Regions from separate parts of the Homo sapiens genome. Here region 2 is linked to region 1. The links are contacts of gene promoters, found by promoter capture Hi-C in human tissues and cell types (Jung and others, 2019). All regions are on one chromosome and are shown on one strand. The core of a region is centred on a gene start or on the middle of the fragment in contact, and the rest is flanking DNA. Distances in the headings are between cores, read along the strand shown.

Region 1 (6,171 bases), core at 2,506-5,005:
ATGTCTGCCTTCAGCGTGTCAAGCCGCTGGCCATGGCAGGGATGTCTGCATGGGGCAGATGGTGGCAGGCAGGCTCCTCTGAGTCTTCCCAGGCAGCTCAGGGGCAGCGAGGACCTCATACAAATGCACAGTGGCCAGACACAGCCCAGAGAGGTTGGTTGGAGTTTGGGGGGCAGCAGGGGATAAGTGGAGGACAACGTGGATGTGGTGTGGCTAGAGATGTCCACACCTAAACAGCTCGCAGAAAGTGCATTCTCAGCACTTCTGTTTCAATTGTACACTAAAAAATTAACTTTTTTTTTAGAGACAGAGTCTTGCTCTGTCACCCAGGCTGGAGTGCGGTGGTATCATCATAGCTCTCTGCAGCATCAACCTCCCCAGCTCAAGTGATGATCCTCCCACCTCAGCCTCCTGAGTAGCGGGTACTATGGGTGTGTGCAACCATACCCAGCTGATTTTTTATTTTTTGTAGCAACAGGGTCTCACTATGTTGCCTAGGTTGGTCTCAAACTTCTGGGCTCCAGCCATCCTTCCACCTCAGCCTCCAGAGTAGCTGGGTCTACAGGTGCATGCCACCACGCCTGGCTTTTCTTTTTTTTTTTTTTTTTGAGACAGAGTCTCACTCTGTCACCCTGGCAGGAGTGCAGCCGCGCGATCTTGGCTCGGTGCAACCTCCGCCTCCCAGGCTCCAGCGGTTCTCCTGCCTCAGCTTCCCGAGTAGCTGGGATTACAGGTGTGCGCCACCATGCCCGGTTAATTTTTATATTTTTAGGAGAGTCAGGGTTTCACCATGTTGGTCAGGTTCACCATGTTGGCCAGGCTGATCTCGAACTCCTGACCTCAAGCAATCCGCCCACATCAGCCTCCCAAAGTGCTGAGATTACAGGCATGAGCCACCACGTCTAACCACCTAGCTATTTTTTAAAAATTTTTAATTTTTTTGTGCAGACAAGGTCTCACTACGTTGCCTAGACTGGTCTCGAACTCCTGGCCTCGAGCAATCCTCCTGCCTCAGCCTCCCAAAGCACTGGGCTTACAGGCATGAGCCACCAATCCTGGCCAACTTTTTAATTAAAATGAAGACATTCTGCCTTAGAAGTAGTAGCTCTCCTTGGTATGAAATTTATAAATTTTACAAGCAGTTTACAGAATAGTGAGGTAAACAAACAGAATAACCATCATGATAATCTCCACCACTTACTGAATACTTATGACATCCTGCACACACACTATGTTGTTTAATTTCTACAGTCACTCTATGAGTGGGTACCGTATAGACGAGGAAGCTGAACGTAACATCCCCAAGTTACCCTTGCTAGTAAATGATAGAGGCTGAACCCAAACCCAGGTCTTTCTGGAGGCAGAGCCCACCCTCCTGACCATCAAATTGCCCATAGTATCATCTAACATGAAGGCAATGGCTTCAGCCCGCACAGGTGAGGAATTCTGCTTTGAGATGAGCAGGATGGAAGGGTTTTTAATATCCATGGGGATCTGCCAGATAGCCAATGGAAGTGAAGGCACCCTGAAAGAGGAAATAGCATGTGCAAAGCTGTGACATAAAGCAGCCTGAAAGTTCAAGAAACCATGAGTGGTGGTGGGATTGTTGGGTGGTGAGGAAGGAAGTGGTATCAAGGATGGCAAGAGATGGTATTGGGGAGTGGGCAGAGGCCACTGAATCCAACATCTCGCCTGCCCAGCGATGGAGCCTTGGGATTTTCCTGTGGGTGACAGGGAGCCATTGAAGCGTTTAAGGACTGGTCGTGGGGTGAGGGGAGTGTACTGTCATCATTTTTGTAGTCTTTTGCAGAGAAAATTTGGAGGCAGTTTGGAAAACACTCTAGAGCCTGACATGTGAGAGATGAGTTAGGAGGTCACGTGTCCCCACTTTTCTAATTTTGTATCTTCTTCAGCAAAAAAGTCTTTGCCGCCTATTCTGAGCAGATGTATGATTATTCACAAATGATATACAATACAACTGTATTCACACATTGCATGCCTTGAAACATACACAAAATGTAAACACTAAAAACATGACGTAAAAATAGATGTAAGTCTGGGAACTCGATGGAGGTGGTGGCTGCACAGCATTGTGAGTGTACTCAATGCCACAGGATTCCCCATCTTAAAACGGCTCATTTTATGGTATGTGAGTCTTAATTAAATACAAAAACCAGACAAGTGTGGGTAGATAGACATTCAATTCCTTTCTTCTCATCCTTCAGTGAACGGTCTGGTGTGCCCTGGGTGCACGTACCCCTTGGGGATTAGGGCAGTGATGAGAGGCAATGGAGGGAGGGTGTGGCTGTGGAGATGCGGACGGGAAGAAGGATCTGAGGAGTGACTGAAGAGGTAGAATGGGCAGGGCTTGGTGATGGAAGGTTGAAGAGTATTCAGCAAAGAGAAGAACGTGGGAAGCCTCCCCATTTCTGGTTTGGGTATAAGATAAAGAAACGTTTTCTCCTTGCCAGGGACATGAGGCAGACAATACTGGGATAATTTCCCAGGGCTTGGGATAGGACTGGGTGGGGAAGTTTCTAGGTATCCATTCTCAGGATAAGGACGGGCCTGTTTGGATGAGGATAATGGAGGGTCAAACCTGAAGAAGCCAGATTAGCAGAGGCAAAGTGAGAGATCAGAAGGTGGTAAACTCAGAAGGGGGTAGAGACCTGAGGAGCAAGCTGGGACAAGGCAGGAGGGAATTCACAGGCCACATGGTAAGTAATGAGTGGGGTAGAGGACAGAGCAGGGTTTCATTGTGGCGAGTCTGACGGGAGGTGCTGGGGGATGTTCCAGGAGAACAGCAGAAATGTGTGATGCTATGGATGTGGGCTTGGCAAGTTCCATCTGGAGCTGGGAAGAGGCCACCCATGGAGAACAGGAACCATGAGGCGGAGAGTGGAGCTTGCAGGAGGGCGAAAATTAAGACCAAAGAATGGAAGCCTGCCAGTGTGAGAGACCGCCTGACAAAAACCAGGAGAGTATGGAGTCATGGCGGCCCAGGCAGAAGTTCTGGGAGGAAAGAAATGGTCAACACTACAGGGAAGTCAAACACTGCCAGTGGAGACAAATAGGACAGGAACTGAAAAAGCATCCATTAGTGAATCCCTGGTGTCATTAGTGAAAATAATTCCAGGCATGAATGGGGAGAGGGAAGGGTGTCGGGCAGGAAGTCCAGTGCCCGTGGGTTGACTGAATGGGAGATGAGGAGGTAACACCCATCATGTAGGTCATGTAGAGCAGCCTTAGGACATCTGATTCCTTGCCTAAGACTCTTCTTTCCTGGTGTAGCTTTGTTCTAGAAAGGTCTGGAAGACTTGTCACAGTTCCAATGCAGGATGAGCCTTTGGTCCTGATCTCTTGGAGGCCCAGACAGCCTGGGAAACCAGCAGAGCTTTGGACAAGTTAAGCAGCCCATTGAAATCAACATTCTTGATAATCATATATCTAAGAGATTCCAAAATGTTCCTGGGATTCTTTTATGGGTCTGCATAGGGTTAGAAAGCACAGGAGTCAAAGAGACCTTCTCCCTTGGCCTCCAGGGCCACCATCCTCTGCTTTTGTCAGTTGGTCTCCCCAGAGTAGAGTCCAGGTTCCTGCTTCCAGCCTTCTGGTAGACCAGGCCCTGCCACAAGTGAGAGTTGGCCGGTTGGGTATCTGGTTTAGTCACTCGCCTCCACACTTTCACATCCTCTATCAACACCTGCACACTTGGGTTGTGACCACACATGCTCTTCCTGTTTGTACAGAAAGTGCCATTCAGAAAGCTCGCCAGCGAGAAGAGAGCTCCACGCTCAGCCTCAGAAGAAAGACGTTCAACGACTTACTGGGGAGAGAAAGAAAAGGAACGGGAGCTGAGAGGTAAGATCAAACTGGAGGGTGTGCGGGCCCTCTAGGATGCCTTGCCTGGAAGAGAGGTAGCCCCGACTTTGTGTCCTGAAGGGTGGCGCTCTAAGTAGCTGTGCCCATGCTCCGCTGGTCAGGGCAGGGGGAGCATTCTTGGTCAGCCTCACCGAGATGGTCCAGGCCCTGGTGAACAGCCAGAGGGATTGAGAAGGAAGAGATGGGATGTGACCAAAGTTGGTCACTGAAGCCGTCAGTGTGTGTGCGTGTGCATGTGTGTGTGTGTGTGTGGTAGAGGGTGCACATAAAGAAGACATAACCTGAGTGTGAACATGCTCACACACATATTTATGATGCTGGCTGGGGCCTTATGAAAAGTGTGTCTTAACCTCATGTTGCTCATTAGCTATAACCTCAAAAATAGAAACCATGACATGGCCACAGACTGGATCCCAGTCAATGGCCCCAGTGAGTGAGCTTGCAAGGAGAGATCATGGGCAGTTCCACCTAAGGCCACCGTCACTTCTGCAGAAATGACTTGGAATAATGACCTCCTCACTGTTAGGGGCTAACAGCACTATATTTGTATTTCTTGGATGGAACATTGTATATGTGTGTATTTGTGTGTGTGTGTCTGTGTATGTGCATAAACACATCATGTATTTATACACATGACATTGTGTGTATGTGTGTTTATGTGTGTATATATATGTACACACACATATGATATAATGCAATATACACAGTGACCAGATTTTTGAAACCAAAGAGAACTAATAGCAAGACAAAGGGGTTTTTTTCCTAATATGTGATTTCCTTGCTATTCGAGTCTCACATATATAAAAATGAAATATGTCTACACATGTGTTTCATAATTCCTTTTATTCAAAGAGGGGATCATTCAGGTAGCTAAAGGTCAAGTGTTTACAATAACAAAGTGGTGGTAAACTCATTCTTTGAATGTTGATCGTACAAACTAAATAATCCATCAAAAAATGTTGTCTCTGCCATTATTAAAAGCATGTGTTCCTTGGTGCAAAATTTAAGAATGTTCTAACTACAAGAGCACCTTCCTTTACCTAGGGCTATCCCATCTCACTGTTGAAGTGAAGTGATTACAGTGAAAGTAATACAGACATTTAATATTCTTAGTTTTGGTTGTGTTTCTGTCAACTGCTATTCCCTTGTTCTAGGCGTAACTGCACTTAGTGTTTAGTGGTGTTATGCATATGTATATTTGATTTGCATTTAGAAAATAGAAAAATATATACATTGCTTATTTTCCAGATTTCAAGGTTTAAATTCCCACTCTAACATGATGGTTTTAGGCAAGTCACTATACATCTCTGCATCGGAGTTCCCACATCTGTAACACAAGTACAATAGTAGATAGTAATCCCTTCCTCTTAAGAATTAAATAAGCTAATACATGTAAAGTGCTTAGACAAGTGCCTGGAACATTGAAAGGGCTCAGTAAGTATTAGCAGCTGTTATCATTGTCATCATCATCATCATCATCATCACTACCTTTTGTACAATTAAGCCATCAAACTTGAAGGGACATGGTAAGAGTTTGGGAAAGGTGAAAGGTGGGAGGTGGTGTGTGTAAAATGGGTTTGGGGGGTGACACTTAAGGCCAGAGCAGTGACATTACAGTCCTTACACTGTAGCTACAGACAAGTAGTGAGCAGGAAAGAGGAACAGCACAGAACACCCCTCCCTATGAGGCCTGCTTGTGAGAGGAACATGTTCTGGAGCTCTGTGGGCTTGATGACATGTACTCATACACATCTTGTACAGCAAACCAGGAAATAGGCACATGGAACGGTGACATCCAAATGATAGTATATAACATGCATTCAGTGCCTCTCAGGTGTGAGACGTGGTGCTCGGCATTTTACACACATTTTGTTATTGTATCTGAGCCATTGCAATTATGCTTATTTTAGAGGAGAGATTGGTAGGTAGCCTAAGAGTGCAGAGCAGGGAAATAGCAGCGTTGGGATCTGACCATCTCCAGATTCTGTGTCCCAATCCCCCACCCATCACACCCAGAATACAAAGCAAGTAGTAACAAAACGTGACCAGTGAGGACGTCCAGTTTCAGAGAGTTTAAGAAACAAGTTCAAAGTCACAGAGAAAGCTGAAGGCATGGTGAGGAGCTGGATGCTGGTTTCTAAATTCCAACCATTTTTTCTACACCACTACTCAGAGGAAGGACCTGATGTCTTGCCTATCAAGGTTGACAGCTATGGACCCTTCCATAAATAACTTTTATCTTCTGCACTTCCACATCTTTTTCTGTGAAGTGGGTGTAATGTCCTGTCC
Region 2 (6,007 bases), core at 146-2,645, 520 kb after region 1:
TCTGTAGTGTAAAAATAAAACTGGCAACAACAAACGTGAGCTTGGGAAATGGACTCTAGGTTTGCAGATACTGTGTTCTTTCAGTAAAACACCACAAAGAGAGCTTGTCTTTATTAAATTCCAACATTTCTACCAAGCTGGTTCTGTTGAATAAAATAACATCTTCTAATGTTCTAGTGTCCAAACGCAGCAGCTTCCGATGGGTGGCACTCAGCTAGCTCAGATGAACTGAAGACCCTTCAGTAACTGCGTTCTCTATACCTGAACTGGAACGCAACTGGGACATTTCTTTTTATAGAAATTCTAATCTTTTCATGTGGCCACTTGAGAATTCTAAATTAGCTGGAAGGTGTTTCAGTCACCAAGATGTAAACAGGTTTTATTTCACTGGAAAAGTGGTTACATAAAGCTTGCCTTTCATCCCCTTCAACTAATTCAAAAGCTCTAAAGAGAAATATTTTAACCTTGAATTTTGCAACTTTGAAATAGACTCATATGATATTTTATCAGTGCTTTACTTTTATCTTCTGACTGTTCTTCCATTACAACTGTTGTATTACATTGCTTTTTAAATAGCTTTGGCAACCTGAAATATGAATTCCCAGGCCCTCAAACTTTCCTTCTGTGATTAATTATAATTAATCCTCTCGCTTGTCATTTCGTCTAGTATCCTGTCATACAACCCAGAAGACACTTTGCAAAATTTCAAGCAGGAAATCTCCTGCACATGGTTTAATGTTGATGCTGTTTCCAGGTGTCATTTATCTTCCTTAAGTAATCCATACACAACCCCTCCAAGAAAGGCCCTCTCTGTGCTCAGCACCAGACATGCTCAGCACCACACATCTTTATGTTGGATGGATAAGAAAGATTGCAAACTTAAGGTTGCCAGATTCAGCAAGTAAAAATCCAGGAACAATGAATAATTCTGTAGTCTAAATGTGTCCCTAATATTGCATATTTTTCATTGTTTATCTGAAATTCAAATTTCACGGGGTGCCCTGTATTTTGCCTGGCAACCCTACGCAAACGATATTTTGATTGAAAGACCGTTAAGAAAAAAGTATTCTCTAAAAGTATTTGATCTTTCTTGGAAATTGCATAAGAAAATGTCAGGATCTTGAAAGACCATCTATATACAAACAGTGGATGCAACTTAAGTCAAAATTCTATCTCGCCCTTCAAGAAAGCTTCCTTGAAAATGAATCTCCTCTCTTTCCAAGCAGTAGAATAAGCATCTCACTTCCAGCAGGAGCTGTGCACAACCGTTCCTCCAGATTTTCCACGAGAGACTGTATCTTGTGTGTGTCAAGTGTGTGTGGTGCTTGCTGCAAGCACTGGGCCTGTTTGGAAATCGGTAGGGTGGAGCCGTATGCAGGTCGGAGGCATCTGGCGGAGCTCCCACTTGCTGCCCTCCCGCCTTCGTCTCCGGAGGGCAGACACGAGACTGCCACTTTCTCTGAAGCATGGCTGGCAGCCTCAGCACCTGGCTGGCCTTTGGGTGCTATTTCTAATTTGTATTTTTGCTGAGTTACTTGTGCCAAGGACTGTCTGCTTTGATAAAGTGGAAGCTTTTTCTTGCTGCCATTAAGGAGAATTCCTGACCTATGTGCACGTCTGTGATGAGGCTGAGGAGATTTTTCTATTGACCTCTAATAACAGGAGGCAACGGGCCAGGGCCTCACCTCCTTGCAAGTGGCATTGGACTGCGAGGCTCTTATTAATGGGGCTGCGTGTGGGTGACACTTTCTTTCAAGCTCTGTTTTTAAACACCATTACTCCCTTGGTTATCACATCCTATTAATTATTCATTGACTGACTTTTCTCCAACAGTAGCTAATGAGGTAAGTTACACAATGGCAATGGTAGTAAATATTATAATATAAAAGCAATTACTGAAGTGGTAGTTTTAATTCAAAATTATTTTAATTACATGGGACTCCAGCTTATTTAAAATTCTGTCTCCATGGAGCTTTCTGTAAGCTTCCCAAACTGTCACCTCCTTGGTTACCTGGAGATAGTCTGGGAAATTTTCTTCCACCTTTCTACTAGCAAGCACCTAGGGGAATTCAAGCAGATAGGTAGCTGGGTAGATGATTGGCAGGAACTGGATGCCTTCAGAAGGCAACAATCCCCAGAACCTTGGAGGTAGCTGTGGCTTGGGCATTTTCTTTTAGAGGAAGACAAAGGTAGAAGCAACCCGGTGGCTCCAGGCAGGAGCAGTGAACTGTGCAGCCTCCCAGGGCCCTGTACGCCGATGGCCTCTTACTTAGTTTAATGCTCTGTGGTTGGCATATTGAAATCCTTAATAACTTTATCTTTGAATTCGTGTTTTTTAAGTGAAGTCCAATGGGATGATGGAGCATCTGCCTGGGCTCAGAGCCTTGGCTCCCATGGGTCCCTCTCAGCTGCCAGCTCCAGCCTGCTGCCCTGGCCCCACCTGGCCTTGCCTGTTCCACCCTACACAGTAACTGCTGCTACCCAGCACCCCAGGAGGGCATGGGTGCATGCCAGGTCAGGACAGGGCTCACAGGCCCAGACATGGCACCCGCGTTTTGCCCCAAGCTGACAGCACAAGGGCACATGCAGTGGGTGGCTGGGCAGGGGGACGAGCCTCTCCCCGACCCTAACCCAGAGGCCTCATGTGTCCCAGTTCAAAGGTTGCAGTCCCCATGGGGATTGTCTTCTCTCCCGTGTCGGTTGGGCCCATGAGACACAGAGATACCTGGCTCAACCTCACTCACCCCAGCCAGGGCATCACACGCCCATCCTGGGCTGGCAGAGGTGGGGAGCTCCTTGCACATGCTAAATTGCAGGGCGAGCCTCCAGATACCCGTGGGATCCTACACTCACCGCATGAGTATTCCAGTGCCCAGCAAGCATGACATTAAGTAGCAAATTAAAATGCCTTGACCAATTGACAGACCATAGAAGAAAGGAGGAACCTTTGTATTTTGAGCGCCTAGGATGGCACTTTTATCTTGCTCTTTGAACAAGGGGCTCTCATTTGCATTTTGCACTGCAAATGATGTGGCAGGTCCTGGCTCCAGGAATGGGGAAGCTGATCATTGCCCTTATTTGGCATCAGGAAAGGCCTATCTTATAAGTTAAAAAAAAAAAAAAAAAAAGAACCAGAGGTCAACAAAAAAAATTGGAGGTCCCAAATGCATTTTGCTCCTTGGAGTTAACGGAGGCACGTGCTGCCAGGTGTGCTCTGAAGTCTGACTAAATACCTTCCTCCTGTCCTCTCTCCCTTCGACCACCAAAAGTCTCCTGGGAACTCTCTCACTCATCTTTTCTGCAGTGGAAAAAAGCAAGGCTACCTTTGTTTGAAGCAGAGTCATTCTGATCAAAGACATGAACCAGAGCTTCCACCGGGAGCTCCCTGTCGGCAAGGACTGTCTCCAGTACATGTCTGAGTCGTCCTGCCTGTGCCCATGCCCAGCCAGGGCCTGACTCTGCATCCACTGACCCCATGGTCTGAGTTCAATGAAAGAATGGGCTGCAGCCCGGCAGGCCTGCCTTGTCCTCCAGCACTGATGCACAGGTCATTCAGAACCTGCTGGGAGGACTCCATCCAATCAGGCTGGGCTGAGCTGAGAGTTTTATTGGCCTGTTCTGTGATGTGGTGATTCTTTTCCTTTTAGTGGGCAGCTCATTTCTGGAAGCGAGATTGCTCACATTCTCTGTGATGGTGGAGCTGGGAGTCGCAGAACTCAGACTTATTGGCACCATACTCAGGAATAATAAAGCAAATAAAATTATATTGACCACATTCTAGTTTATTTCATTCCCCCTTCTTTTTCTTACCACTCCCTCTCTGCCTTCTCTCTCTTTGCTCAGCCTGCCCATAAAACAACCTTTCTATTTTCAGCAAACCTTAAAGAAACAAAGGCCTGGCTTTGACATTCCTTCCCTTGAATAAAATGTGTTCGTGGTAATTTGCCTCTCATGGGTTGGGCTCATTCTCAGCGTCTGCACGTGGGAGCCATCTTCGATCAGGACCACCTCCCTGAGGGTCCTCTGGGGGCACAGCCTCTGCAGTGCATTCAGAATGAGTTGCCATGGTTGGAGGAGAACGCACCCACCCTCGACTCATTTTCCCTCCACTCCAGCAGTGACTGTACCAAAGTGGGGCTGGAGACCCCTGGTCCTGTATTGTTCTCAGCACGTCCTAGTTGGTGTAGTCTTATTTAAATTACATAGATTTGCTCATAGAATTTCAGCTTCACACCCTATAGGAAACCAGGCAATCCCAGTCTGTTTTTTCAGCTCTCTTCCTTATCACCCACATATCTAAATAGAAGGGCTGCCTGGTGCTGGATGCTATAAAATTGAAGGAAGGATAAATGGTTCCTCCCCGTGGCCTGCGTCTATTTCAGCTTCCCCCACACAACTCGCCCTGCAAATCCCAGCCTCCTGTTATTCCACCCGCTTTGCCTGGAGCTTGCCCCCTTCTCTCTTTTCCTAGCAAATCCTGCTCAGTGTTTCAGGCCCCACTTCCTCCAAGAATTCCTGCCTGGAAACTCTACTCCTCGTTCTTCCCCCTGGCCTCTCAAGTCTTAGAACTAAGAATTAGGACTAGGAATTTTATGGCCGCATTGAGCGCTTGACATACACTGTTTTCTCTTAAACATTATTCTAGGTCCTCCAACTATAAGGACATGATTAACCTTGTGCCTTCTGTCCCCACCACACTCAGAACAGTACCAGGCACATATGGTTGCAGAGCAACAGTGACAGGCAAGGAGCACCGACCATTCTTCATGGCAGAAAAATCCTCACCCACCTAAACCTGAAATCCAAAATGCTCTGGGTGGACGAGGTCGCAGGCAGATCCCTTGAAGCCACTTTATATACAGCAAGTTAAGAAATCTCTACCCACAGCACAGCATAGCAGACTTAGTTATGATGAGAATTATCTAGACTCCTAGAGGTAGCAAAGCCAGGAATCTGTCACTTGCTCAGCTGTTACACAGCAATGCTGTGTGCGAATTTAGGGAGGAAACCCCAGGCAGCTTGTTATAGTCAACTGAAGATTAGCAGGAGTGAATTGTCTGTGACTCTGGCTCCAGGGTTCTCTGGTCTTTTCTTGGCCTCGCCATTGCTCATCAGCCTAAATGGGAGGAACAGAAAGAATTAAAATAGAAATTAACACAGCTTCTAGTTGGAAATTCGGGTTAGGCATCTCTAGGGATAGTAATTTAAAAAACGGTGTGTTAATCTATTTGCATTGCTGTAAAGGAATACCTGAGGCCAGGTAATTTATAAAGAAAAGAGATTTATTTGGCTCATGGTTCTGCAGGCAGTACTGGAAGCATGGCACCAGCATCTGTGTCTGGTGAGGCCTCAGAAAGCTTTCACTCATGGTGGAAGGTGAAGGGGAAGCAGGTGTGTCACATGACAAGAAGAGGGAGAAGAGGAGGAGGTACCAGGCTCCTATAAACAGCCAGCTCTTGCATAAACTAATAAAGTGAGAACTCACTCATTACCTGGGGGAGGGCACCAAGCCATTCATGAGCAATCCTCCCCCGTGACCCAAACACCTCCCACTAGGCCCCACCTCCAACAATGCAGCTCAGATTATGTGATTTGGACAGGACAAATATCCAAAGTTTCAGAGGGTCTTTGGGGATTTTTGTTTGTTTTTGGAGACAGGTCCTCACTGTGTCACTCAGGCTGGAATGCAGTAGTACAATCATAGCTCAGTGAAACCTCTAACTCCTTTGGCTCAAGTGATCCTGCCACCTCAGCCTCCGAGTAATTAGGACTACAGGTGTGCACCACCACCCCTGGCAAATTTTTTTGGTTTTGCAGAAACAGGGGTCTCACTATGTTGCCCATTCTGGTCTCGAACTCCTGGCCCCAAGTGATCCTCCCACCCTGGCCTCGCAAAGTGCTGGGAATACAGGTGTGAGTCACCAGACCTGGCCTGTTTTTTTCTTTTTAATTAAGTATACATTTATCGAAGGGTATTAGAAGTGACGGACCACAGAAATCATCTAGT

Evidence for each region. Contacts are between HindIII fragments. The study calls those that stand out against the background at their distance.
Region 2: a contact is called between a fragment that was not itself captured here and the fragment with the promoter of AFF3 in region 1, in 3 of the 25 tissues and cell types used here (aorta, dorsolateral prefrontal cortex and mesenchymal stem cells).

The regions. Positions count from the first base shown.
Region 1 is chr2:100,140,174-100,146,344 of GRCh38, reverse strand. AFF3 (ALF transcription elongation factor 3) reads left to right here and starts at 3,755. Exons shown (of 25, transcript NM_001386135.1): 1 at 3,755-3,861. The HindIII fragment of the contact is 13,656 bases long and covers 1-6,171 here.
Region 2 is chr2:99,620,273-99,626,279 of GRCh38, reverse strand. All of the region lies in intron 13 of AFF3 (ALF transcription elongation factor 3), which reads left to right. Among named protein-coding and RNA genes, the nearest start is that of REV1, 130 kb to the right of the region's middle. The HindIII fragment of the contact is 4,551 bases long and covers 1-3,670 here.